Regions from separate parts of the Homo sapiens genome. Here all the other regions are linked to region 1. The links are contacts of gene promoters, found by promoter capture Hi-C in blood cells and fetal thymus (Javierre and others, 2016). All regions are on one chromosome and are shown on one strand. Each heading gives the region's core, a stretch centred on a gene start or on the middle of the fragment in contact. The rest is flanking DNA. Distances are from core to core; before and after follow the strand shown. Region 1 holds the start of OR10J1 (olfactory receptor family 10 subfamily J member 1). Region 2 has its middle 18 kb from the start of CRP. Region 3 has its middle 11 kb from the start of DUSP23. Region 4 has its middle 27 kb from the start of CRP. Region 5 holds the start of CFAP45 (cilia and flagella associated protein 45). Region 6 holds the start of CRP (C-reactive protein).

Evidence for each region. The method cuts DNA at HindIII sites, captures the fragments that hold promoters and counts their contacts. A CHiCAGO score of 5 or more calls a contact.
Region 2: a fragment that was not itself captured here is called in contact with the fragment with the promoter of OR10J1 in region 1 in 1 of 17 cell types (M2 macrophages); the score reaches 6.0 in M2 macrophages.
Region 3: a contact is called between a fragment that was not itself captured here and the fragment with the promoter of OR10J1 in region 1, in 4 of 17 cell types (M2 macrophages, M1 macrophages, endothelial precursors and 1 more). The highest score is 11.0, in M2 macrophages.
Region 4: a fragment that was not itself captured here is called in contact with the fragment with the promoter of OR10J1 in region 1 in 4 of 17 cell types (endothelial precursors, M2 macrophages, neutrophils and 1 more); the score reaches 6.3 in endothelial precursors.
Region 5: the fragment with the promoter of CFAP45 here is called in contact with the fragment with the promoter of OR10J1 in region 1 in 2 of 17 cell types (M1 macrophages and M0 macrophages); the score reaches 5.5 in M1 macrophages.
Region 6: the fragment with the promoter of CRP here is called in contact with the fragment with the promoter of OR10J1 in region 1 in 5 of 17 cell types (M2 macrophages, endothelial precursors, M1 macrophages and 2 more); the score reaches 6.5 in M2 macrophages.

Annotation. Positions count from the first base shown.
Region 1 is chr1:159,437,253-159,441,220 of GRCh38, forward strand. OR10J1 (olfactory receptor family 10 subfamily J member 1) reads left to right here and starts at 2,470. Exons shown (of 1, transcript NM_012351.3): 1 at 2,470-3,715. The coding sequence starts at 2,540. The coding sequence ends at 3,469. The HindIII fragment of the contact is 2,085 bases long and covers 1,533-3,617 here.
Region 2 is chr1:159,695,126-159,698,623 of GRCh38, forward strand. No RefSeq gene overlaps it. Among named protein-coding and RNA genes, the nearest start is that of CRP, 18 kb to the right of the region's middle. The HindIII fragment of the contact is 1,708 bases long and covers 684-2,391 here.
Region 3 is chr1:159,768,417-159,771,841 of GRCh38, forward strand. No RefSeq gene overlaps it. Among named protein-coding and RNA genes, the nearest start is that of DUSP23, 11 kb to the right of the region's middle. RefSeq lists enhancers at 1-166, 167-1,120. The HindIII fragment of the contact is 5,272 bases long and covers 1-3,425 here.
Region 4 is chr1:159,739,310-159,742,903 of GRCh38, forward strand. No RefSeq gene overlaps it. Among named protein-coding and RNA genes, the nearest start is that of CRP, 27 kb to the left of the region's middle. The HindIII fragment of the contact is 3,809 bases long and covers 291-3,594 here.
Region 5 is chr1:159,898,709-159,902,711 of GRCh38, forward strand. It overlaps CFAP45 (cilia and flagella associated protein 45), which reads right to left and starts at 1,457. Exons shown (of 12, transcript NM_012337.3): 1 at 1,388-1,457. The coding sequence starts at 1,390. It overlaps MIR4259 (microRNA 4259), which reads right to left and starts at 1,371; the gene lies at 1,271-1,371. LOC124904435 (a long non-coding RNA gene) reads left to right here and starts at 1,542. Exons shown (of 3, transcript XR_007066679.1): 1 at 1,542-2,105. The HindIII fragment of the contact is 6,665 bases long and covers 1-3,600 here.
Region 6 is chr1:159,712,435-159,716,222 of GRCh38, forward strand. CRP (C-reactive protein) reads right to left here and starts at 2,155. Exons shown (of 2, transcript NM_000567.3): 1 at 1,991-2,155; 2 at 1-1,704. The coding sequence starts at 2,051. The coding sequence ends at 1,091. The HindIII fragment of the contact is 4,063 bases long and covers 1-3,055 here.

The DNA of each region.
Region 1 (3,968 bases), core at 1,220-3,719:
GTGCTTCCAATCCTGAATGCCACAGGGCAAGGACAGGCAGCATGAACTGCCCTCTGCAGAATGACGACCATATTTAAATACTTCTTTTCCAAAAAGAAAACCAGATTCTTATACTAGATAGAGTTCCTGCCTATAAGCAAAAGGCCCTAAACTTCCTGAAATCCAAGGTGGTATGGCTCTAAGCTTGAGCTGCCTAGATTTTTCAATATGGATTTCTAAGATACATCTGTAAAAAAATAAAAAATAAAAAATAAACCACATGCACATATACACACTCACAATGTACTTATTCAAACAATTAAAAATCAACTAAATAAACCAGCTTCCTCAAATGTTATTTCAACTTGAAGCAAAAACTTTCCCCAGGCTCCCCAAGCGCTAGCCTGGAATTGAGTAAATGAGCCCTATACATAATGAGACCTCCAGGTACCTGATACCTGCATCCTCCCAGCCCCAGGGGGGTGGCTGTCAGAATGTCTTCAGGGAGTGACCCCCAGAAGCCCAGCTGCCTGATCCTGGGAGAGCATCTCCTCTGGCTTCAAAGACTTTTCCACACAGAGGGGTTATCAAGAATGCCTATGACTCTCAAACCTGACTATATTCCTACTAGTGTGTGTTTATGCCCTGCCTGCTCAGCCTCAGGTCCTGCCGTAGGCACTCTTGGTCACCTTGCTCACCTTGGTCACCCTATGCCTATCCATTGTGGCCAAGGGAGCCTGACATTTCAATCTTTACTCCTCGGCCTCCTCCAGCCCAGCTTTCCCGTTGTGCCTCAGTGCTAAGCAGAGTCATGTGAGTGGTCTTTAGAAGAAGGACTGAAATGGGGCTCATTACATATGAGCTGACTTTAATTTATTGTAGTATTTCAGGTCCTATCACAGCTGGACAGGTCTTCATAAGCTATATTTGCTCTTCCTTCCATTTCCTTTGAAGAATTATAGACTTCCAAGAGTGGGGAGGATGCTAACCAAATCATAATAGCCATTCTTCTACCTCAAGACAGACAAGTTTCAGCCAGATAAGATGATATTTTAGCCGTGTGTTTCTCAATGGGAACTTTATTGGTATTTGGAAGAAGGGAATTCTTCCTTGGGCAGAATCACCACAAGTTTTGCAGGACATTTCACATCGTGAATGGCCAAGAGCTTCTGTGCTCATTATTGTAACAGTTAAAAGCTCTGCCAAGCATTTCTGATTTCACCATAGAGGCACCATACCACTCCGTGGCTGGACTACTACATAGTTTTTGCTCAGAAGCCTCACAGAAGACAAATGTCTTTAGACATATATTTTAGTATCAAATGATTTTCTTTATTGGAAAATATTCTCTATTGCAGCTTTACTTTCTTTTTAGCATTCTTAGTGTAAATGATTAACAGCTGGTCATCAACTTCTTTTAAATAGATTTTTATGAACTTGAAGAAAGTCTCCGTGCGTACTAACCTTCATCATTGATGTGATTTACTTTATGCAAAACTTCTCTTTCTGAATATGCATAAGCAAATCAGAATATAATTTAAATACCCTAGAGAAGCTTACTGTTTAAAGAGATAAAAATGTGAAATATTACATAAATTGAACTGATCCCCTTCCTTCAACAAAATGATGTATCTTTGGTGTAGCTGTTTTTTTATATTCAGGGTTTGCTTTTGCTTTAGGTGAGGGACACTTAAATTTGCTGTATCTTTCCTGATACAATTGTTTATCTCTGCAGAGTGGGTGTAGGCTTACTCACAAAGTTGTATTGGCTATAAATTTGCCTTCTAGTTTAGGGAAGGTAAAGATGTAGCATAGTTTATAACATACGTGAATCAGTGCTCTGAACTGTCAGCAGACTTCCATCACTCAGACAGAAGTGGGGAGAGGCTGGTGGTTGGCTAAGATTTTCCTTTTTCTTCTTGAAGACAAGATGAACCTTTCTACTTTGCTTCTAATTCTTAAAGGATGCGCAAGGAGGATGATTCATAGTCTTGAAAGAAAAGACATCACTAGTCCATCCCTAAACAAATTATTTTCAAGCACCCAATCCATGCATAATTTGGAGCTAGTGAAATATGAAAAGATGTAAAAGGTATTATAAAGTTGCTAAGTGTTTGTATGAGGTGAGGCAGCAATAATGGGGTAAAAATAATCCAAATAAACATGAGAACCTCTGAGTGTAATACGGTTTTATGAAGGCCTGAAAATGTGCACTCATCTCTGAAGAGTAGGAAAGAAATAAGAGGAGAAAAGAGAAGCCATTCCAGATGTCAGGGAGGAAGAGTAGATATGAAGTAGGAGCATGTATGGTTATACAGTGAAAAAGTGAGACTATATGATTCTATGATGCATGGAAAATTATAACAGATGGTCACAGAGTAAAAATATTTTAAGTAAAGATAAGTAAACCCAGGGATTAACTTAATCCACTAGGAAATACATCACCAGATTTGTAACTGAGAACTATTGAACTTCAATCAATTTCAGAAATGTGCTTCTACTGCTTTACTGGGACTATGTGACTTTTATGCTTTTATGTTTCAGATTTGGGAACCAATCCATGAAAAGAGAGAACTTTACTCTCATCACTGACTTTGTTTTCCAAGGTTTCTCTAGCTTCCATGAGCAGCAGATCACCCTTTTTGGCGTGTTCCTTGCACTATACATCTTAACCTTAGCAGGCAATATCATCATTGTGACCATCATCCGAATGGATCTTCATCTTCACACACCCATGTACTTCTTCCTGAGCATGCTGTCCACTTCAGAGACTGTATATACATTGGTCATTCTCCCAAGAATGCTCTCCAGCCTCGTAGGTATGAGCCAGCCCATATCATTGGCAGGGTGTGCCACACAGATGTTCTTTTTTGTAACCTTTGGCATCACTAACTGCTTCCTGCTCACAGCAATGGGATATGACCGCTATGTGGCCATCTGCAACCCCCTGAGATACATGGTTATTATGAACAAGAGGCTGCGTATCCAACTTGTCCTGGGGGCCTGCAGCATTGGGCTGATTGTAGCAATAACGCAAGTGACATCTGTATTCAGGTTACCCTTCTGTGCTAGAAAGGTGCCCCACTTCTTCTGTGACATCCGCCCTGTGATGAAGCTCTCCTGCATTGACACCACTGTCAATGAAATCCTGACTTTGATTATCAGTGTGCTGGTGCTTGTTGTACCTATGGGTCTGGTTTTCATTTCTTATGTTCTCATTATCTCTACAATCCTCAAGATTGCTTCAGTTGAGGGCCGGAAGAAGGCTTTTGCCACCTGTGCATCCCACCTCACTGTGGTCATTGTCCACTACAGCTGTGCCTCCATTGCCTACCTCAAGCCCAAGTCAGAGAACACCAGAGAACATGACCAGCTGATCTCGGTGACCTACACTGTCATCACTCCCCTACTGAACCCTGTGGTATACACCCTGAGAAATAAAGAGGTCAAAGATGCTCTGTGCAGGGCTGTTGGTGGGAAGTTTTCCTGACCATGTAGGAAGAGTTCTCCTGAGGCTGTCAACATCCACACTAGGCAGGAATATGAGGTGTAAACTCACAAACACTTGGCTCCTAGAGACCTGCCCCTTAAATAAGAGGCAAAAGAGGAATAGCAGTTTCATACAACTGGGAGTCTGAAGCTTTAAATAAAGTTACTGGATGGAGTGTTATCCCTATTTTTGGGGATAAATAGACAAACAAGGATAAGATATGCCTAAATAAAAGGCCAGAAAGTAGTATGGGCTGAGAATTTTTTACTGACCTTTTGGTTTCTTTGTGAATCTCCACCTAATGAAGGCAATAGAAAGCCCCTTGAGAAAATAGAATCCAAGACACACTTAAAATCTTTTTCCTATAATCCCTTTCTTCCTATACTAGAGCACCAGGGCTTCTGAAACTGGATTCCCTATTGGAGTATGTTTATGACATGTCAAGTAATAAGTTACTGTGTGGGGAGGGAAAGTGGCCTCAGGATTAGATAGCCCAGGA
Region 2 (3,498 bases), core at 288-2,787, 260 kb after region 1:
ACAACACTGCACTCCAACCTGGATGACAGAGTGAGACTCTATCTCAAAAAGTGAAAAATGAAAACACTTAATTCTCCATATGAAATTATTTCCCACTTAAAATATTTAAAATAGTTTCTCCTTTCTACATTGAATACTAACTGACACAATTCAATCACTTTAAAATGTTTATAATAAAGTAATAATAGAGTTCCCCCCTCTGCCTATTTATTGTAACACAAACACAATCCTTTCCAATTTATTTTGTCTCTATACAGATCTACCTCTTATCTATCTATCTGCTTGTCTATCTATCAACTGTATGTCCGTACAAATAAAAATGCTCTTGTGTTGCAAAACTGAATTATGCTGCACATACTAATCTGCAATTTGCTTTTTTCCCTGAGCATTTTTCTTGAATGGTACATATAGATCTAGTCTATTATTTTTAAATAGCTGCACAATATTCCATAGTATAGTGATAGCACAATTTATTCAATCATATTCGAGGATTTCCCTGTTGATGAACACATGTGTTTTCCAAATATTTGCTATTAGAATGCTGTAATGAATATCTTTTTATGTATCACCTTAAGGACTCTGATCTTATTGCTGTAAGATAAATTTCTTTAAGTAGAATTAGTGGGCCAAAGAATATGAGCCTTTCAAAATTTTAATACATACTGTCAAATTAAATTCCAACAAGCTTCTACAAATTTACACTCTCAGCACAAATGCATGAAATGGCTTATTTCCCCATTAAACTAGTGATAACTGGATAGTAAAACCTTTTTTTGCCAATCTAATAACAAAAAAGTAATATACCATTGTTGTCTCTAAATTGCTTTTCTTAGATTACAAGTAAAATCAATGTTTACCGGGCATCTGCATTTTATTTGCGATGATTGTCCTTTCACATCTACACTTTGCCATTTCTTTTTTTCCATCTATTTGTAAGCACCTTAAGTATATTAAAGATATTAGCCCTTTGTCTGATACACACACATACACACATGTACACACACACGCACGGAGAGAAAGAGAGCAGAGGTAATATTCTTCTAGTTTGTCATTTGGTATTTGTTTCTGTTTATATTAACTTTGCCATCGCAAGGTTTTTAGGTAGCTATGGGTAATTGTGTTGCTTAGAAAAGTCTCCATGACTTTGAGATTTTACAAATATTTTCCTAAATGTTTTAATACTTTTGGTGTTTTGTTGTTTTATATATAAAGATTTAACCCATCAAATATTTAGTTTTGTAGATGGTTAAAAATTAAGATGTAACTTTATTTCAAGTGGATAGACAATAGTTCCAGCCCTAATTATTGTCTGAGCCATTCTTTCCTCCATTGAAATGGATTACTGTACTACATACGTACCTGAATCTGTCTCTGAATTCTTATTTGTTTCACTGATTTATTGTCAATTCCTGTTTTAATGCCATATTGATTTGATTCTAGTGGCTTTATAGATATTAAGTTCTGGTATCTATTAAAAAAATCCCTACTATTATTTTTCTTTTCAAAAATTTCCTGGCATTTATTACATATTTATTCTTCAAAATCAATTTCAGATTTATTTTCTTTGATTAATATAAGCTGGAAATTTTATTCAAATAATAGTAAATGTATGCATTAATTTAGGAATGATTGACATTCTTGGAATGATTGAGACTTTATAATATGAAGTCTCTCATCCAGGAGGATGTCATGTCCCTCCAATTTATTCATGTCTTGTCCTTCAATAACACTCCCTTTTCCTTCATATGGTTCTTGTGACCCTTCTATTAAGTTTTTCCTTGAGAGATTGACAGTTCTGTAGACTATGACAAGCTAGCCTGGGCTCAGGTCTCCTTCCCTTGAGCTGAACTCTAGAGAAACCACAAAAGTGAAAGGGATCCCAATACAAAAAAAAGTAGGGGGAAATACTTGGGAAGAACAGAGGTGACAGAACACCAATGTGATAGAAAAAAAGGTTAGGGCAAAAGGAAAACAGGTCCTACAACTGGGGAAGGGACTGGGAAACCACTTTCTAACTGAGTCTTTTATTGTCTTTCCCACATTGCCCTGAGAGGATTATTATTCATTCTATCAAAGTGGGTTGGTGAGAAAAACTGCATCCCAGCCCAGCACCAGCACCAGCCTGAGTTACATCAGGGAGACTCTAGCTGGGGTGAAATGCTTATAAGAAGAAGTTCACAGAGTCTGGCCAATTACTGAGCATCCTCTTCTCCTCCCTTCCTCTCTTGCCTCACCCATATAAGAATCGGTCGCAACAGAGGAGGACATTCTCTGGAAAACTGAAATTCTTGGGACAGAGGTGTTAGGTGGGTAGGGAGTCCCAAAGGACACGGCTATCTAGTGGCAGAAATGAAGTAAACAAAATAATTGAGAACTTATTACAACACTAGAAGCTTTCCACACTGAGATATACTCCGTTCCCACTCCCAAACTCGCCTAGAGGAGAACAAGCTGGAATAAAGTACATATGACCATCAAGGTACAGATGATCTTTCAAGGTAGTTGATAATTCTAAAGGAGTATGTGTTTGCACAGAAAAAAGCTAACATAGCAGGCCTGAGGCTGCTACCATTAGAAATGCCTACTGCAAGCCTAAACTTTCCCTTTTGCCATAAGAAAATGCAAGGGTGCTCTAAAAAAATAAAATAAAATAAAATATAAAATTAAAAAACCATAGAGTAGGTATCATACTTAATCTCAACTTATTGAAAGCATTCCTCTTCACATTAGGAACATGAAATGGATGTCTACAGTTACCATTTTCTTTTAAGTGAAGGTACTAGACAGTAGAATGAGACAAAAAATGATTTAGGATCCATAGCGATAAAAATAAATGAATGAATAAATGAGGAGAAAATAACACTTTTCACTTAAAAGTAGAAGGAATGATGGAAATGTAAAGTGACCATTTGATAAACTATCATAGTAATAATTAATCTATTCAAAAAACATAGATGGATGCTATAACTAGTGAGTGAAAGTATAATGGGAAATGATATATTTACCTAGTCTTAAAATATCACCTTACTACAAAATTATTAATTACAAGAAGTAAGTTTCAATGGAGAAAAACATAAAATCACTTTAATCTAATGATCAAGTAATGAGAAAAGTCAAACTTGTGTCTCCCTTGATAGAACGCAATGAGAAGAAAACAGCCCCAATTCTGTGATATTTCTGCCAAAAATTCATAACCTGAATCTAATCATTAGAAGACATCAGACAAACCTGAACCAAGGAATATTCTGGCTACAGCCTTCAGGTGTTAAAGTTTTGAGAATTAAAGAAAGACTGGAAAGGATGAGGAAATGCTCTAGAAATCAAAGGTGACTGAAGAAACATGACAACTAAATGCAGTGTATAATCCTGGTTTGTATCTTTTTGCTATAAAGGACATGATTGGATAATTGGTGAAAGTTGAATGGGATATGTAAATTAGATAACAGTGATATATCAGTGTTAATTTCCTGATTTTGATGGTTGTATTGGGGTCATGTA
Region 3 (3,425 bases), core at 291-2,790, 330 kb after region 1:
TAAAGCATTGAGATGTTTATGTGTATGCATATCTAAAAGCACAGCACTTAATCCTTTACCTTGTCTATGATACAAAGACCTTTGTTCACGTGTTTGTCTGCTGACCCTCTCCCCACTATTGTCTTGTGACCATGACACATCCCCCTCTCGGAGAAACACCCACAAATGATCAATAAATACTAAGGGAACTCAGAGGCTGGCGAGATCCTCCATATGCTGAACGCTGGTTCCCCGGGTCCCCTTATTTCTTTCTCTATACTTTGTCTCTGTGTCTTTTTCTTTTCCAAGTCTCTCATTCCACCTTACGAGAAACACCCACAGGTGTGGAGGGGCAACCCACCCCTTCACATAAGTATATTGCAGGACCTTCTACTCTAGGTATAGAAAACGGTTCTTGAATACAGCCTGGTTTACCTACTTCTACTCTCTGGAAGTGGTTGCCTCTGCTTTCTCCAAGATGACCCATGTTTTCAATAAAAATAGCCTGTGTGTGCAGCTGAGTGATTTTCTCATCTTACCTCCTGTTTCTATTTATTTTGAACTTCCTGTACATTAGTTAGTCTAAACTAATCCAATACCTTTCTATGTGGGCTTTCTATATGCCAGGTGATAGTCCACTTGACTAGACAAAAGCTATACCCACAACTATTTTTGAGATAGGCCTCTACTTTGGTTCAGTATGTCAATGTGCCGTGGAAAAAATGCCCTTAAAATTCTTAAAAGCCACTTTGCCTAGCTGAGAGAATCTAATAGTCACTATTTTAAATCATTCTGTGGTCTTAAGAAAGTCTTGTAGCCACACCCTTGATTTAATTTGTACCCTGAGAACATTTCTAACTTTGAGAATCTTTTGGCAGTAGGAGAGACTGGAAATGTGAGACAGTTTTATTTCTCACCTAGCGTATCCTGGGCACTCCATATTTGCTTTAAATTCTGCTTGCAAATGGAGCAATTCATTTTTTTTTTTTTTTGGTTCATCTCTCTCTTCCTATACCCTATTATCTATCACCTTTAAAAAGCTAATTGGCCCCTTCAGCATTCTAAATGGAAACTTCCTTAAGCCAAATCTACAAGTTAATTAAGTACATTTTTTATCTTCCAAGTTTCTGAAGATGACAGTGTTGCCAGTTATTCTACTACTATATAATGTGATTTGCCCTTTATCAGCCTCCAGTAGCAGTTTCCTCTCAGGTCCTCAGGCTCCACTAATAATCTACTCGCTGCACCTACTGCCTCTTCCAGCCACTCAACCCCAAAGCCAATGCCACATAGTTTAGCTTTTTGTTACAGCAACATACCATTTCTGGGTATAAATTTTTATATCTGGCCGGGCACGTTGGCTCACGACTGTAATCCCAGAACTTTGGGAGGCCGAGGCAGGCGGATCACCTGAGATCAGGAGTTCGAGACCAGCCTGGCCAACATGACAAAACCCTGTCTCTAATAAAAATACAAAAATTAGCCAGTCATGGTGGCAGACGCCTGTAATCCCAGCTACTCAGGAGGCTGAGGCAGGATAATCGGATAATCACTTGAATCTGGAGAGTGGAGGTTGCAGTGAGCTGGGATCGCGCCACTATCTCAGCCTGGGCCACAGCAAGACTCCATCTCAAAAAAAAAAAAAAAAAAAAAAAATATATATATATATATATATATATATATATATATATATATATATATATATATATATAAAATCAGTTTTCCATTCCTATGAAGTAAATGACCATATATATATATATATATACACACACACATATATAGAGAGAGATAGATATAGATATAGATATAGATCAGTTTTCCATTCCTATGAAGTAAATGACCCCAAAATTTAGTGGCTTAACAGCAATTTCTATTTCTCATGATTCTGTGAGTTAGCTGGGTCACTCTTCTACTGGTCATACCTAGGATCATTCATGCAGCTGCATCCAGCTTGGGGACTGGGCTCAACTGGCCTCTCCTACCATACGGTATATAATTCAGGGCTTCTTTATAGCATAAAGGTCTTAGGGTTCCAAGATGACAAGACCCAACATGCAAGTGCTTATCATACCTCTGCTTCTATCACATTTGTTTTATTTTATTTCATTTTATTTTATTTTATTTTATTTTATTTTATTTTATTTTATTTTATTTTATTTTTTGAGATGGAGTTTCACTCTTGTTGCCCAGGCTGGAGAGCAGTGGTACAGTCTTGGCTCACTGCAACCTCTGCCTCCCGGTTTCAAGCAATTCTCCTGCCTCAGCCTCCCAAGTAGCTGGGATTACAGGCATGTGCCATCACGCCCGGCTAATTTTGTATTTTTAGTAGAGATGGGGTTTCACCATGTTGGTCAGGCTAGTCTCAAACTCCTGATCTCAAGTGATCCACCTGCCTTGGCCTCCCAAAGTGCTGAAATTACAGGCATGAGCCACCGCGTCTGGCCCACATTTGTTTATATCACGTTAGCCAAAGCAAGTACAAGGCTGAGTCCAGTACAAATGTAGGAGAGGCATGTATAAGGGTGTGGATACTAGGAGGTGTAATCCATTCAGGTCATTGCTATAACAATCTGCTCCAAAACCAAAATGTAAGTTTCATGCTTTTATCTGCATCTTTAGTCAAGTATATAGCCCAATATTTTGTTCACTTGGACTTAATTGGCATGTTTGTTTAATTGAATTAAAGAGGTAGAAAGTTTTAGAAACACAAGGACCAGAAAGGCTGAAACTATTATAGTTTTGGAAAGCCAAAAGACTATAGAGCAAAGCTAACCATTAAAAAACATTTTCTCACCATTTTTCCATATTCTTGTGAATCAAATATGTTTTCTGACCAAAGGGATTTAGGGTATCATAATTTTCAAATAAATGACTGACTCATCAACCTTGTCTCTGTTATGGTCATAGCTATTCCAGAAATAAATTCCATGTGAATTTGCAAATTTTCTCATCCTAAATAACTGTTTGAACATCTGAATAATCACACAATGTAGATTCCTCCGTATTTGCACAAGAGAAAAAGAATTAAATAGAATTACTGGCATTTCAAACCCAGTATTTGAATTTTGCTAAGATTAGACGCTAGACTTGATTTGTCTTTCCCATCTGAGGATATAGGTATATTTAGTTTTTCACTAAAATAAAGAGAATCATGGCTGTGTTTTAATGGCCTCAAAGGTTCTTTTCCTAACAGTCATTTTCTCCAGAAGAGGTTGAGGTTTTTCATCAACAGTAGTGGATAATGATGAGCACATTTTGAAACTGACTAATGATTAATGATATCTTCCTTTCAAGGATTGATAGACCATAAAACTCTGCACTAAAGGACACATTCTTCCCTTGCTACCAATTTTGAGTCTAAGAATCCAGGTATGTTTGCACTATTTTTTCCCATGAAGCAGAATATCCCATCAAAGTGTAACAAGGGGATTCACTGAGAACTCAAT
Region 4 (3,594 bases), core at 945-3,444, 300 kb after region 1:
TTTGATGAGGAAAAGATTTGCATAGTCTTAAGGTATCTTCCCACAAATTCCTTGTTAATTACAAAGCGGAAATGTGTAACTTTATAGTGGTGAAACCTAGCAGATACCACATTAGTTAAGTAAGTGATCAAATTTAGTATTGTCAATAACACAACCAGGCAGCTTAACTTCAAAATGCATTTTAAAAACTTTTTTTTTCAAGGTTGCAAGATGCAACCTTGAAGCTTACAGCAGAAACCTTGTTTTTCTTCTCCTTAGTCTTTTTTCAAGGTTGCAAGATGCAACCTTGAAGCTTTCAGCAGAAACCTTGTTTTTCTTCTCCTTAGTCTTAACACACAGCTTTGAACTGTACTTTCTTTAAAACACCAGGTTGCTCCCTTTCTCACCATACACTCTTACACCATGCACATTTATCTAACTGTATGCTTGTATCTAATTATATGCTTACTTAGAAGTTCCAGGGGCTAATCTTGAGACAGACAAAGCCTGGAAATCCAGCTGCAGAATTCCAGCGATTAACTCAAGGCAACTAGTCAACAACATGGCCATTGTTGAGATGATGCCAGCTCACGCTCCAGGTGGACTGAAATCCAACATAGCCATCGAAACAAGACACACAGACCTGAGCTCAGCACAACTCCTGCATGTCTCCCCTGTTAAGTCCCTTCTTTTTGAAACCTTGCCTTCTCCCCAGTAGTTCAAAGTGGTTGCTTTGGTTGGGAATCTGGCCACCTCCCCAGTACTAGTTTTGGTTAATAAAACCACTTTCCTTCTTCCAGACCTCACTCTTGTTAATTGGATTCTGCAAGCAGCAAGCATCCAGACATGCATTCATTTATAATAATGGGACAGATTCAAATTGTGTACCACTGACTAGATGTAATGAGGAGAAAAATGCAACTATTCTGTGATATTACTGCCAAAAAATAACTGACCTGATTCTAATCACAAGGGAGCACCCAACAAACTCCAAAAGAGGAACATTCTCCAAAGCAATTGGCCTGTAATCTGCAGAAGTGCCAATGTCATGAACATTAAGACAATTTGAAGAACTCTTTCAGAATAAAGGGGTCTAAAGAGACATGATAACTAAATGCAATGTGTGATCTATATTGGGTACTTTTGCTTTAAAAAGGACATATTTGGAAGAATTAGTGAATTTGCAGAGGGTCTGGGGATAAGATGGTACTAATATATTGGTGCTGATTTTTTTATTTTGATTGTTGTTATGTACTTGTAAAGGAAAATATCCTTGCTTGTAGAAATTATACATTAAAGTGTTTAACGGTGTCTTAGACACGCAGTGCCATGAGCAGTCTGGGTATCCATTCCTGTTGGAATGGAAATACCACAAACTAGGTAATTTATAAATAATAGAAATGTATTTATCTCAGCTCTAGAGGCTGGGAAGGAAGTACAAGATCAAGGTGGCAGAAGGTTTAGTATCTGGTGAGGGCCCAGTCTCTACCTCCAAGATGGTGCCCCAAACACGGTGTCCTCACATGGCAGCAGAAATGGAAGAGGGAACAGGCCTAGATAATTCTCTTGACCCCTTTTATAAGGTCAGTAATCTCATTCCTGAGGATGGAGCCCTTATGACTTAATCACCTCCTAAAAGCCCAACCCCTTAATACTATCACATGGCAGCTTAGATGCCAACATATGAATTTGGGGGGGACACATACATTCAAACCTTAGCACAGGTAATAGGGTATCACATTGGCAACTTATCCTTAAATGCTTCATAAAACAGAAAGTTCTTTGTATTATTCTTAGGGGAAAAAATAATTACCTTCAATGACTTCCATGTCACTCAGCCAAAGTCTTCTACAGTGGCCTTCAATTCCCTCCATGACTTTCCTCTATTGTCATCTTGTGCCCCATTTCTCTGGATTTTCCCCGTAATCTGCTCTAGTGACACAGATTTTCTTGCTTTTCCTCAAACCCATCAGGCACACTCCCACCTTAAGGCCTTTGCACTAGCTATTCCCCCTGCCTGGAATGTTCTTCCCCAAGAAATCTACCTGGTCAACTCCCTCATCTCCATCAAGTTTTACCCAAATGTCATTGTTTCAGTGGGGCCTACAAGGACCACCTTACTTTTTTTAATTTTACTTTAAGTTCTGGGATACTTGTGCAGAACCTGCAGGTTTGTTACATAGGTATACATGTGCCATGGTGGTTTGCTGCACCTGTCAACCCATCATCTAGGTTTTAAGCCCCACACGCATTAGGTATTTGTCCTAATGCTCTCCCTCCCCTTGCCCCCCACCCCCCGACAGGCCCCAGTGTGTGATATTCCCCTTGCTGTGTCCATGTGTTCTCATTGTTCTGAATGAGAACATGCAGTGTTTGGTTTTCTGTTCCTGTGTTAGTTTGATGAGAATGATGACTTCCAGCTTCATCCATGTCCCTGCAAAGGACATGAACTCATTCTTTTTTATGACTGTATAGTATTCCATGGTGTATATCAGTTACATTTTCTTTATCCAGTCTATCATTGATGAGCATTTGGGTTGGCTCCAAGCCTTTGCTATTGTAAATAGTGCTACAGTAAACATACATGTGCATGTGTCTTTATAGTAGAATGATTTATAATCCTTCAGGTATATACCCAGTAATGGGGTTGCTGGGTCAAATGGTATTTCTGGTTCTAGATCATTGAGGAATCGCCACACTGTCTTCCACAATGGTTGAACTAATTTACAGTCCCACCAATAGTGTAAAAGTGTTTCTATTTCTCCACATCCTCTCCAGCATCTGTTGTTTCCTGACTTTTTAATAATCGCCATTCTAACTGGCATGAGATGGTATCTCATTGTGGTTTTGATGTGCATTTCTCTAATGACCAGCAATGATGAGCTTTTATTCATATGTTTGTTGGTGGCATAAATGACTTCTTTTGAGAAGTGTCTGTTCATATCCTTCGCCCACTTTTTGATGGGGTTGTTTGTTTTTTTCTTGTAAATTTGTTTAAGTTCTTTGTAGATTCTGGATATTAGACCTTTGTCAGATGGGTAGCTTGCAAAAATTTTCTCCCATTCTGTAGGTTGCCTATTTACTCTGATGATAGTTTATTTTGTTGTGCAGAAGATCTTTAGTTTGATTAGATCCCATTTGTCAATTTTGGCTTTTGTTGCAATTGCTTTCGGTATTTTAGTCATGAAGTCTTTGCCCATCCCGATGTCCTGAATGGTATTACCTAGGTTTTCTTCTAGGATTTTTATGGTTTTGAGCTTTACATTTAAGTCTTTAATCCATCTTGAATTATTTTTTGTAAAAGGTATAAGGAAGAGATCCAATTTCAGTTTTCTGCATATGGCTAGCCAGTTTTCCCAGTACTATTTATTAAATAGGGAATCCTTTACCCATTGCTTGTTTTTGTCAGATTTGTCAAAGATCAGATAGTTGTAGATGTGTGGTGTTATTTCTGAGGTCTCTGTTCTCTTTCCCTTGGTCTATATCTCTGTTTTGGTGCCAGTACCATGCTGTTTTGGTTACTGTAGCCTTGTAGTATAATTTGAAGTCAGGTAGCATGATGCCTCCAGCTTTGTTCTTTTTGCATAGGACTGTCTTGGCTATATGGGCTCTTTT
Region 5 (4,003 bases), core at 207-2,706, 460 kb after region 1:
ACTAACATTTACCATATGCCCTTAGACACCAGGCATGACAGTAGGTGTTCACATACATACATACGCCACTGTGTTTGTAAGGTGCTGAGAGAAGATGGGACACTGAATCAAATAGAATACATAAGTGAAAGGGGACGCTCCCCCACCCCAATTACAACACTGCAGGGAGTCCTCGAAAGTCAGGAACTGCTCTTTGTTGGAGACTTATTTAATAATTAACAAAATTCTTCTGAGGTCCACTGAGCCCCAGAAAAGCAATGCAGCCCCTGGGCCTGAAGTCTGTCCACAAGTACATCCAAGTAGCAACCTTTGCCACCTGTTGTGCCCCAGACATTCTAGGTCAGTTCCAATAACCCAAGACTCCAACACTTATCATCTGCCCTTCCCCTCCCCTCTGGGACCAACACACTCAAGCCCAGGCATCCCCTTCATGGTTCCTCCCAGGCTTTGCTGGCCTTCTCAGCCCTCAGTACCCTGACAGCCCTCCCCATCCCAGCAAACCCCAGGCTGCCAGTCCTGTCCCAATCTCTCTCCCGGGCCTTGCAAACCTGAGACCCTCCTCACTCACTCACTCATTTATTCATTCATTCATTCACTGCCAAATATTTATTGACTAACTACTGAGGGATACAAAGCCCTGCTAACAGAAGAAAAACCTGAGGCTCGGGCACATTAGATGACTTACCCACAGTCACCTTGCTAGTTAGTGGCAAAACAGGTACCACGACCCATTATCTGGCCTCCTCACCAGTGCTTTTTTTTTTTTTTTTTTTTTTTGAGACGGAGTCTCGCTGTGTCGCCCAGGCTGGAGTGCAGTGGCGCGATCTCGGCTCACTGCAAGCTCCGCCTCCCGGGTTCACGCCATTCTCCTGCCTCAGCCTCCCGAGTAGCTGGGACTACAGGCGCCCGCCACCACGCCCGGCTAATTTTTTGTATTTTTAGTAGAGGCGGGGTTTCACTGTGTTAGCCAGGATGGTCTCGATCTCCTGACCTCATGATCCGCCCGCCTCTGCCTCCCAAAGTGCTGGGATTACAGGCGTAAGCCACCGCGCCCGGCCCACCAGTGCTTTTTCCCACACCACATCCACAATCTTTGGTCCACAGAGGCCCCGCTGTAATGGCAACGGGGAGAGGGTTGGGGCATCCCTTTCTCCCCAACTCCTCCGCTCAGCGCGCTCCACATTTCCAATCGTTATCGATGCTATCCCTAATTCCTCTTTTGAACCCACCTCAGGATCTCCCTTGCTTCTTCTAGAGGTGTTCTCCTTACTCCTGGGCCCTCCTGACCCCTAGACCCAACTGTGACCTCCCCTAGGCCCCCACTTTCCCCACTCAGAGCCCCCACCCAATTCAGGACACAAGGGGCCCATCTGAGGTTCTCCCTCACCATCTCCTCAGCCACACGCCCTGACTCCGGACTTCTGCTGCCGCCTCGGCGCCGCCAAGGCCCTAGTGTTGACGCGTTACCTTGGCAACCACTAGCCCGCGTTCTTCGGCTCAGGCCCCGCCCCCGGCCCCGCCCCTCCCACCTCCAGCGGGCAGTTGCCTTGTGCTGGTGGCTTAGGAACCGGAGCCCGTCGCTCCAACCGTTGCAGCTCCACGCTCCAGCCCAACCGCGGCTCTGAAGGATTGACCCGCCCTGGCGTGCCCTGCTCTCCACTTTGGCTTTGGCCAAACTTTTCGGTCAGAACCCGAACCTAAAGAACTTACTATGGGCCGAGGGGGTTCTAACTGTCAGCGGCCCCAGGAGCCTGGCCCAGGGTCACAGTTTTCCCCTGGGACTTCACCTAGGTTGCTATGATTACTCTTGCCCCATTGCCCAGGAGGCGCCAAGCCAACCCCTGATGAGTGTAGTCTGCAGAGAAGCCAGCAGGATCAGGACAAACCAGTTCCACAGCAGGAGAGAATCTGGTCGGGTCAACAAAGAACTTCCAGCCCTGAGGATGTCTATGCAGTCTCAAGAGCAGTTTCTTAAATTGCGGGCCTCAAATCTGCAGCTAAGAATCACCTGGGAGAGTTTATTAAAAATGGAGGCCCTACATTAGAATAAGTCAAAAGCTAAGGAACTGACTTTGGGGAGCTTGTCTTTTAACACTTCCTAGCTGGTATGTATTGTTCTAGAAAGTACATAGGGGTTTTGTCATTTTTTCCAATTTGGTTTGGCCTCTCTACCTCCCAACTTGCAGGGCTGGCACTGAGCTCACTTTGGTAGGCTGCATGCTCCAAGCCTCACGAAGCTGTCCCACCAGACCAAGGACATTTGTCTTCCTCCAGTGCTGATTAGCTGATTAGCTAAGCTCTTGGTGTGACTCTGTGAGTCTCTGAGCTGCTTTCTCAAACCTCTCTCCAAACCCTCACAGCCAGTCTTTCTGAAGCTCTTACTCCAACTTGGGCACTGAAGGCTATTCACAAGCCCCGGGGGAATGGAAAGAGGGAGACAAGGTCACTTCTTGCTGCTTTTAAAAGGACTTACTCCAACAGGCTTCACATTCCTTCCCTAGATTTCCCAGCCTTTATCTCCTTTGGGATCAAGAGTACAAAATTGTGTCCCCTGCCCAGTCCCACCAAGTGTTGAAGGCTTAATCAGAGGGAGAAGGGAAGGCCTGAAGAGGAGGAGCACAGTCCCTGGGAGGCTTGGGACTGAGAGAAGGGGCTGTTTTGTTCGTGGGAACCTTCCTTACTAAGCCTTGGCATTAGAACCCCGTTCCCTGCAGCTCAGAAAGAAGGGAAGACAAGTAACCGGCCCACTGTGAATAAGGTGCTTCCTGTATTCACCCCATTCTCCCAGGCACATCTGCATGACATAGTTACTATCCGTGTAACCAAAGAGGAAACAAGCCAAGAAAAAACTGTCCAAATTGAAAATCTATTCTTTTCTCAGCCCAGGGTAACTCTCTGAAGAAAAGGTGCAAAGTTGAGGCAGAAAGGGCTGGGCGCGGTGGCTCATGCCTGTAATCCCAGCACTTTGGGAGGCCAAGGTGGGCAGATCACGAGGTCAGGAGTTCGAGACCAGCCTGGCCGACATAGTGAAACCCCGTCTCTACTAAAAATACAAAAAATTAGCCGGGGGTGGTGGCAGGCACCTGTAATCCCAGCTACTCAGGAGGCTCAGGCAGGAGAATCACTTGAAGCCAGGAGGGGGAGATTGCAGTGAGCCAAGATCACTCCAGCCCAGGCAACAATGCAAGACTCTGTCTCAAAGAAAAATTAAAAAAGTTATGGCAGGAAGGAGGGAATGACAGAGTGCAGTGTAAGGGACTTGCCTCCCAGCAGGCAATTACATGCCTGTAATCCCAGTACTTTGGGAGCCCAAGGCAGGAGGATTGCTTACATCCAGGAGTTTGAGACCAGCCTGGGCAACATAGGGAGATCCCATCTCTACAAAAAATCAAAAATTAGCCAGGCATAGTGGTACATGCCAGTGGTCCCAGCTACTTGGGAGGCTGCACTAGGAGGGTCACTTGAGCCTCGGAGGTTGAGGCTGCTCTGAGCCATGATCGTGCCAATGCACCCAGCCTGGGTGACAAGAGTGAGACCCTGTCTTGAAAAATAAAATAAATAAAATACAATAAAAATTTATCTCAAAGCTAACAATGCTTAAGCTTCAGGCCTCTCATTTACGTAAGCACATGTCAAGGCTCAGAGAAGAACCCTTGGCCATGTGTCTACAGGCATACCTTGGAGATACTGCAGATTAGGCTTCAGAGCACTGCAATAAAACTAATATCACAATACAATGTGAGCAACACAAATTATTTGGTTTCCCAGTGCATAGGAAAGTTACATTTGCACTATACTGTAGTCTATCAGGTGTGCAATGGCATTATGTCTAAAAAAATGTGCATACCTTAATTTAAATATACTTTGTTGCTAAAAAGTGCTAACAATCATCTGAGTCTTCAGAGAGAGTCATCATCTTTCTGCTGGTGGAGGGTCTTGCCTCAGTGTTAATGGCTGCTAACTGATGAGGGTAGCACTTGCTGAAAGCAGAGGTGGCTGCAGC
Region 6 (3,788 bases), core at 905-3,404, 270 kb after region 1:
TGTCCTCACAGTCTCTCTCCATGTGGCAAACAAGATGGCTACTGGTGGTCCCAGGTTCACGTCCTCTCAGCTTGGAAATCCAGCAGCAAGAAGATGTCTCACTCCCAAAGTCCATAACTCAATCCTTGGGAAGACTGTAGTTGGTCCTGCTAGGAACACGTAACTATCCAACTATCCTCCAGATAGGGAGCTGGGGAGATGGGAGATGGGCTCCTCTGACAGGACACCCTGTGGTTCACGTCCACTCTTGTGGCCTGGGTATATTGGGAATGCGGGGATGAAGAAAGAATTCACAGCCCCACAAGGTTCGTGTGGAAAAGGGGAGGAGTTTCCCAGAAGAGCCATAAAATTAAGAAAGCACTGCAAGCAAACAAAAACCAGTCATTTAAGTTCTTGGCAGTAACAACATATTTATACCTAGTGCTTCATTTTGCTCTGGAAAAAAAGCAGATCTGCTCTGCTGGGGCAATTCTAATGGCCTTTCCAGTGTGCTTTGAGAAAGTGGAGGGACTGCGTGGTATTGCTGGGCTTCCCATTTCAGGAGACCTGGGCCCAGCAGTTCTATGACATGATGATGAGCACTCTGGACCCAAACCAGACACCTGGCCAGTGTCCTGATTCTGAGACTGAAGAGCCCTGTGAATGTGGGCAATGCCCTCCTGCTTTCTGGGGGTCATGGGTGGGGAATTAAATAGAAGATCAGCGCTTCCTTCTCAGCTCTTGCCTTATGAGTTTTTTATAACATCATTTCTCCTTTCTGGGTGTTAGTTTTCTCATCTATGTGAGGTAAGAAATTATCTCCAAGATCTGTCCAACTTGAAATAAAAATGAAAACAAAACACCTCAAATTCTGATTCTTTTGGACCGTTTCCCAGCATAGTTAACGAGCTCCCAGACCAGACACTTTACCTCCATTCTCAGGCGCTGAGGAGGGTGGAGCAGGCCTGCAATGCATATAGGGGAACAAAGGCCCAGAGACAGAGACGTGGGAACCATGCAGTGTAAAAAAGCGGGAGGTACCAGAGACAGAGACGTGGGGCCCATGCGGTGTAAAAAACCGGGAGGTACCTTCAGGACCCACAGCTGGGCCTCAGGGCCACAGCTGGGGTTTGGTGAACACTTCGCCTTGCACTTCATACTTCAGTGCCCGCCAGTTCAGGACATTAGGACTGAAGGGCCCGCCAAGATAGATGGTGTTAATCTCATCTGGTGACAGCACAAAGTCCCACATGTTCACATTTCCAATGTCTCCCACCAGGGACTGGCTTCCTTCAAAGTTCCCACCGAAGGAATCCTGCTCCTGCCCCAAGATGATGCTTGCTTCTGCCCCCACAGTGTATCCCTTCTTCAGACTCTTCCTCACCCTGGGCTTCCCATCTACCCAGAACTCCACGATCCCTGAGGCGGACTCCCAGCTTGTACAAATGTGTACTGGAGCTACTGTGACTTCAGGAACCTCGAATAATATTTCAGACCCACCCACTGTAAAACTGTATCCTATATCCTTAGACCAAAATATGAGAATCTCATTGTCTTGTCTCTTGGTGGCATACGAGAAAATACTGTACCCACGGGTCGAGGACAGTTCCGTGTAGAAGTGGAGGCACACAGTGAAGGCTTTGAGAGGCTTCGTTAACGGTGCTTTGAGGGATACATAGGAAGTATCCGACTCTTTGGGAAACACAAAAGCCTTCCTCGACATGTCTGTGAGCCAGAAAAACAAGCAAATGTGAGAGGTTTCTCAGATCACACAGATCTATCCCCTCACTTACGTATAGAATTTAAGATTGAGAAACAGACTGACCCCTTCTCCAGTTACACACCACACACACACACACACACACACACACACACACACACACCATGAAGGATGCTCCACTGTTCTGTTCATACAGTCTTTTTTTTTTTTTTTTGAGACTGTTCATGCAGTCTTAGACCCCACCCCCATACCTCAGATCAAATCTCTCCCATAGCCTGGGGTGGCCCTTACCTGTCTGGCCAAAAGCATGAGAGAGGCTGGTCAAGACCAAGAAACACAACAGCTTCTCCATGGTCACGTCCTGCTGCCAGTGATACAAGGGCCTGAATTCACTCCTTTGGAAAAGATGTATTCGGCTGAAAGTTCAGGGGCTAGAAGTCCTAGATCTCTTGCCTTAGAGCTACCTCCTCCTGCCTGGATTTATATCCAAAGCAGTAAGGGAGTTTGCGCCACTATGTAAATAATTTTCCAACATTGCTTGTTGGGGCAGGTGTCAGAGCTTCGGGAAGAGGGGAAGCAAAATTATTTCAGAACAGAGAAATCAATGTGAGTTATTTATTACAAACTCCTATGACTACTGAATTACCAATTCTTTATGACAGGAAAAATGAAGAAATCTCTCAGGGCTCCACTTTGGCTATCTATCCTGCGAAAATAATGGGAAATGGTAACATATTAAACGAGTGGCCATCTGGGTGCACGTGGTAGCTGCCTCTCCAACACCTACTTCAGCCCAAATCATAGAGTTTGACAAAGGAAATCTGACAGCTTCTGGAGATGGACATTATCACTAACCCCTTTCAATTTGCTTATTTACAGACTGGGAAATGAGGAAAACAAACATGCTCCTCCCAGAGCCATGGACACATTTTTTTATTATTATTATACTTTAAGTTTTAGGGTACATGTGCACAATGTGCAGGTTAGTTACATATGTATACATGTGCCATGCTGGTGTGCTGCACCCATTAACTCATCATTTAGCATTAGGTATATCTTCTAATGCTATCCCTCCCCCCTCCCCCCACCCCACAACAGTCCCCAGAGTGTGATGTTCCCCTTCCTGTGTCCAAGTATTCTCATTGTTCAATTCCCATCTATGAGTGAGAACACGCGGTGTTTGGTTTTTTGCATGGACACATTTTCTCAGCCAATTGAGTACACTTATTAAGAACTCTCTAGACATCTTGGCACTAAATGACGGCCCTGACAGTAAAAGTCCAGTAAAATGTGTGCCTGATCACAGACATAGCATTATATCAAAGTTTCTTCCAACATTTTTCTCTGAATATGTAAAGCTTCAGGCAGGAGTCAGGATAATCTGATTCTACTCTTTCCTCTATTCACAAGATTCAAGTAATCCCTCCACACTGTCTGTCAATCTTACTACAGTTCCCTACTTAACTCACTCTTCAAAATGACTATTATACTCCTTCTCCTTGCTCCTCAAGTCCCCAAAATCTCATTTATTCTTTCATTCAGCTGATGAACTCACCTTTCATTGAGAAGTTAGAAGCAATCAGAAAAGAACCACCGTATCCTTTGTAGTAGAGTCTTCTAGCCATTCCCTAACATCCATTCTCTACTTCTCATAAGAGAAGAATAACATTTTCAGTTGGGCGCTTGGTCATCCCCTCAAACACCAAATTTCCCAGCCCCCACTGTAGCTTGCAGTGATGATGTGATTAAATTAAGGCCAACGAGATATGAACAGAATAGGGACCATCTCTAGGTTGTGCTCTTTAAGAAAGGTATGTGCTTTCCCCTCCCACTTCCCCCTTTTTCCCTTTGACTAGTATTCAGTCATGATAGCAGGAGATGGAATAGTTCACTTTCAGGCCAGCAAGTGTAAGCTGCATGTTGAGGTTGGCATGGCAACAAGATAGATGGAGCCTGGATAATTGGGTATGGAGCCACTGCATCAGCTCTAGGCTGCCTACCTGAAAATTTACTTAAAGGAGAAATACTCTCCTCTTTTGTTAAATCACTGTTAACTCAGTCTTTCTGTTCTTAACACCTAACTGATATC